2 separate regions of the Homo sapiens genome follow, and region 1 is linked to region 2. Evidence: promoter capture Hi-C in human tissues and cell types (Jung and others, 2019). All regions are on one chromosome and are shown on one strand. Each heading gives the region's core, a stretch centred on a gene start or on the middle of the fragment in contact. The rest is flanking DNA. Distances are from core to core; before and after follow the strand shown. Region 1 overlaps BTBD7 (BTB domain containing 7). Region 2 holds the start of UBR7 (ubiquitin protein ligase E3 component n-recognin 7).

The links. The method cuts DNA at HindIII sites, captures the fragments that hold promoters and counts their contacts. A contact is called where the count stands out against the background at its distance.
Region 1: a fragment that was not itself captured here is called in contact with the fragment with the promoter of UBR7 in region 2 in 1 of the 25 tissues and cell types used here (hippocampus).

Annotation. Positions count from the first base shown.
Region 1 is chr14:93,256,143-93,258,842 of GRCh38, forward strand. BTBD7 (BTB domain containing 7) reads right to left here. Exons shown (of 11, transcript NM_001002860.4): 6 at 1,053-1,213. Among named protein-coding and RNA genes, the nearest start is that of UBR7, 50 kb to the left of the region's middle. The HindIII fragment of the contact is 3,260 bases long and covers 1-2,700 here.
Region 2 is chr14:93,205,839-93,208,538 of GRCh38, forward strand. UBR7 (ubiquitin protein ligase E3 component n-recognin 7) reads left to right here and starts at 1,418. Exons shown (of 11, transcript NM_175748.4): 1 at 1,418-1,603. The coding sequence starts at 1,454. GON7 (GON7 subunit of KEOPS complex) reads right to left here and starts at 1,227. Exons shown (of 2, transcript NM_032490.5): 1 at 992-1,227. The coding sequence starts at 1,199. RefSeq lists an enhancer at 464-1,323. The HindIII fragment of the contact is 21,573 bases long and covers 1-2,700 here.

The sequences.
Region 1 (2,700 bases), core at 115-2,614, 50 kb after region 2:
TAATTTTGTGTGCCAGTGAAACGATGGTTTAACTTTCAATAAATTTCTTCTTCTGCTAATCAGTTAATCTAGCACCACATTGACTTGTGATAGTTCGTTTATTATTATGTTTTGTTTTTTTTCCAGAAGACTTTTATAATGTTTTATAATGTTCCTGTGCAGTTAGAAAAAACATATTATGATGTTTATAAGCATTATATTAAGTTTATAAGTCAATGTGTGAAGAACTAATATTTATAATATTTATTTTTCCCATCCATGAATTCAAGCAATTCTATTAATTTTTTTTTTTTTGAGATGGAGTCTCGCTCTGTCACCCAGGCTGGAGTGCAATGGCTCGATCTCGGCTCACTGCAACCTCCACCTCCCCAGTTCAAGCAATTCCCCTGCCTCAGCCTCCCGAGTAGCTGGGATTATAGGCATGCACCACCACGCCTGGCTAATTTTTGTATGTTTAGTAGAGATGGGGTTCTACCATGTTGGCCAGGCTGGTCTCAAACTCCTGACCTCAGGTGATCCACCTGCCTTGGCGTCCCAAAGTGCTGGGATTACAGGAGTGAGCCACCGCGCCCAGCCAATTATATTAATTTTTAAAAAATTCACTGTTTAAAAAATTATGAAAGTAACAAGATGAGCTCTATTAATTTTCAGGTCCATCCATTCTTTTTCTATTCAACCAATCCCTCCACTCCACTACTCTCTGATTCACTGCTGTTCTTGAAGACTCTTCAAAGGTAATTTCTACCTTTCCCTTTTTGAATAAGGGTCTACTTGATCTACACTTAAATGACAGAATTAACTCTGCTAGAAATAATGCTCTTGCATGAGTAAGACCTATTTACCCACTCAACTCTCATTCACTGAACATTTTAACTGTATTATGTGGAAGACACAGGAGATACAACATCGTACACAATAGACATCTGTCTCTGTCCTCACAGAATTACAGCTTCACAATACTCTATTAGTAGCAGAAATTATTTACAATGAATAAAAACATACACCTGGCATTTTTCTTTTCATGAAAGGAATACATGGAGAAAAACACTTACTGCATCACTTAAGACTTCACTGTTTATAGGTAAGATGTGTTCAATTCGCACAAAAGGTAAGAGAGAAGAAAGGATCTCTCTGAGCTCTTCCATGTCCAGGTCCCGTCTTTTTACACCTCTTTTGTTCACACTATGGGCAGTGCCACTCAGTAAGTTTGGCTCTATGAGACAGAAAATGAAAAGTTTCCAACCAAATCCAAATGTTCTGAGACAGGTTTCCTTTGTTCTCTAGTACATACACTAACAGTACCACTCTATAGACTTATGTGCCTCTGCTTTAAAAAGGGTTATAAATCAATTATTTTCTTTCATGTTTGTTTAATAGGGATGTTCTTGGATAAAGAAAAAGCATGGTATCAACAGTACAATAAAATTATTTTATCACTGCTCTGCAATAAAGAATAAAGGATTCCTTTCTATAGACTAACTCAAAAGAGAAAAGATGACAATCTACTAAAATCTAGTTTTATCAAGGGCTTTTTAAAAAGCCTTCTCACTTTTGTGACCAGTGTTTAGTAGTATAAGGTCATTGTAGAGCATATGCCATTTCTGGTCACTGTAAGTTATCAGTATGCTCATTAGCCTACATATGTGTAACAGTAATTTAACAACATGTTAATCACTTGGTGTTTGAAGCAGCAAAGCATAATGTGCTTTATTTGGTTTTAAGATTTTTATGAAAATCTCCCAAATTTCCATAATATGGGAACATTACTGCATAAAAGTAGACCCTTTGATCTTTGACATGTAATATATGTCCATCATCCAAGGCAGAGAATGATTTCTTCATTGGGCATTAGTGAACAACAATCTGAAATACATGTATGCTTATGCTATTGAGGTGGGAAGAAAAATTATGTAATTTGGAAATCTTTAATCATGGCTTTAATCTAGGGGTCTGTAATTTTTTTCTTAAAAAAATTAACACAGAATAAGATCTTATTATTCATGAAATGCTGGATTTTTTTCAAATATTCTACAGGAAAACTGGTATCTTCCTTAAATCGTGTGTGTGTGTGTGTGTGTATGAGAGAGAGAGAGAGAGAATTGATTGTTTTTGAGAAGCTAAGTTTTTTTCTGGATTCATTCAGAATAAAATTGTTAACTGTGTAGAAAAGAGTCATTTTTTTCCCCCTTGCCTAGCTATGATTTAGCTTCATACTTATTTAAGGCATTCTGCTTTTCAAAATATTTTTTTTTCTTAAAGTAGTGACATCCTGTTTTCATATAAAATCTTACATGAAACCCCCAAATATGTGACAGGTAAGTGCAGAATCCTCCTGTATAAAACTGACTGAAACAAAGCTATGGCCTGGTTCACTTAGCTTCCTTCTTATCCTTGCAGAAGAACCTTCCACTAACCCAGTGTGGAAACTACCTTTTATTTATTTTTTTATTATTATTTTTTAAGATGGAGTCTTGCTGTGTTGCCCAGGCTAGAGTGCAGTGGCATGATCTTGGCTCACTGCAACCTCCACCTCCTGGGTTCAAGCGATTCTCCTGCCTCAGCCTCCCAAGTAGCTGGGATTATAGGCACCCGCCACCACACGCAGCTAATTTTTCTATTTTTAGTAGAGATGGGGTTTCACCATGTTGGCCAGGCTGGTCTCAAACTCCTGACCTCAGGTGATCCACTCACCTTGGCCTT
Region 2 (2,700 bases), core at 168-2,667:
GTTCCTACTCTGCGATAGATTGTACTCTTCCAAGTATGTCTGTAGTTTCACACCTGATAAAACTCCTTTTTATTCAACACCCAGCTCAAAAGTCTTATCCTTTCTGAAGACTTCCTAGGGTGTCTGGGTTTGCAACAGTTACAGAGGACCACAGAACCACTTTCACTTTTTTTTTCTTTTTTTTTGAGACGGAGTCTCGCTCTGTCGCCCACGATAGAGTGCAGTGGCGCGATCTCGGCTCACTGCACCCTCTGCCTCCAGGGTTCAAGCGATTCTTCTGCCTCAGCCTCCCGAGTAGAGTAGCTGGGACTACAGGAGCATGCCACCACGCCCAGCTAATTTTTGTATTTTTAGTAGAGACAGGGTTTCACCATATTGGCCAGGCTTGTCTCGAACTCCTGACCTCGTGATCTGCCTGCCTCGGTCTCCCAAAGTGCAGGGATTACAGGCGTGAGCCACCAGCCCGGACCACTTCCACTTTTAATAAGAGTGTCTGCCTGTCTAGTCCCCTTGTGTTTCACAAGGGCAGGAACTGAGTCGCATTCACCTCATTCTTCCTCCAGGGCTCAGCTCAGGGTTTGGCACATAATAGTAGGCATTCGACACGTTTTTTTGTGAAATAAACGAAATAGCGATGAGTTGTGGAAACGCTTGAGTAGAAGCAGCCCAAATAAATATAGTGATAAATGCCAACAATTTTTATTTTTTAAATTATTTTAAAAATAATAATAGAAACGGGGTCTCGATATGTTGCCCTGGCTGTTCTGGAACTCCTGACCTCAAGTGATCCTCCTGCCTCGCCCTCCCAAAGTGCTGGGATTACAGGCGTGAGCCCCACTTCGCCTAGCCCGCCAAAAATTTTTAGATGCAATTCTTCTTTCCTCGAGGCTCACTTTGTCCAAGTCTGCCACTCTACACGGGCTCCCCAAGCCAATTTCCCCTGGGCGCCCGCCCCGTCCTCCGGTCACTGCAGCACCGTCTCAGAGCTCACCGTCCAAGTCCTCGTCTGGAGCCGCCGCCACCCGGTGCTGCACTTCCCCCTGTACCAGAGGGTCGAATAATTCCGTTACCATGTCCTTCATCTGGGCCACGCCAGACAACAGGCCCTGGAAAGGGTCGCCGTCACCCGGCGCCTCACAGGACACCCGCAGCTTCTGCGGCTTCCCTTCCTGCCCGACGTACTCTCCCAGCAGCTCCATGGTGACCGCTAAGCTTCCAGAACACGACACCGGGAAGCGCCACCCGGAGGCGGAAATCAGCCCGCGTCCGGCGCAGGCGGGAGAAGGGAGAGGAGTGACATCCGTTTGTCGGAAGTCGCTCCTCCCCCTTCCTTCGCTTTTTTTCCTTGTCATTGGTTCCTGGCACTCGGGCCCCACCTCCTCCGGCTACGCCCCTCACGGCCGCTTTTCCCGCCTCCGCCGGGGCCGAGCCGCTGTTCGGCTGACAGTTGAGGATGGCCGGAGCCGAGGGCGCCGCTGGGCGGCAGTCGGAGCTGGAGCCCGTGGTATCGTTGGTCGACGTCCTTGAGGAGGACGAGGAGCTGGAGAATGAGGCGTGCGCTGTCCTGGGCGGCAGCGACTCCGAGAAGTGCTCCTACTCTCAGGTGGGCGCGCGGCCCGGGCCTCCTCTCCCCCGGCTCCCGCCGAACCTCCCCTTCCCGGCCCGGCTGTCCCTATTCCCGCCTTGCCGCAGTCGTCTCCCCAGTGGTGGTCCGGGGCCGCCGTTAGTCTGCCGCTTCCTCACCCCAAGCTCACCCTTCCCTTTTAACCCCAACCTCCTGGGCCCCCTTCAGCCTGTGTCCAGCAGGGGCCCCCCTCTCCCCTGTCTCCAACTCTGTCCGGCCCGCCAGGAAGGGCCCTGGAGCAGCTGCTCTGTCCGTCCTCTCCAGCCTCTTCTTGGTGCACCACTGCTTTTCACGAAACCACCCCGCGACCTCTCAGATCCAGACATCTTTGTCCCTGATTTTCCCATCCTAAGATTATTTATTTATTTATTTATTAGGGACCGAATGGGAGAGTCAGGTTAAAGAGATTTTCAAATCCATAGGGATTTGCGGTGAGCTCCTTGACAGCTAGTTCCTCTGCAATTTAGTTGGACAAGTGCTAGCTAGTACTTTTTCTTTCTTTCTTTTTTTGGCAAAATGAAGCAAGTACCCATGTCTATCTGCAGTCTGCCCCCCTCCCCTGGAAATAGACCGGAAACAGAACAGCAAGTGGCTCTGGCAAGGGAGGGGAGAGAGGAGAAAAGGATCTGTTTGGCATTTGGAAGACGTTGTGAGTGAGCAAGTGTTTGAGGGGGTGTGATGTGGTGTTTAGTGACTCACCCTACACTTCGAGGTACAAAAATGGAAAAGGATGGGTAGGAAGAAGACTGACAAAGGATGAGAATTGGTAGGAAGAAGGGTTACCTAGGAAGAGGGGTGGATTGGAACACTGGGGAGATGAGGGGAGAGACTTGTATTCATTATGTGGTATGAACTGAGATCATAATACCAGTTCTCGTTGTTGACCAAGGTTAGTTTACACTGCAAAGTGCTAGATTGTTGAATAAACCTGGTATCCAGACATAGCCCCAGGTATTTTAAAACCTTTGGTCACCACTAAAACAATTTTTCCCCTGCTTTACTTAAAAAAAAAAAAAAGAAAAAAGTTATGTCTATATGTAAACTATTTTTGAAGTGTAGTTACCTTTATAAAATGG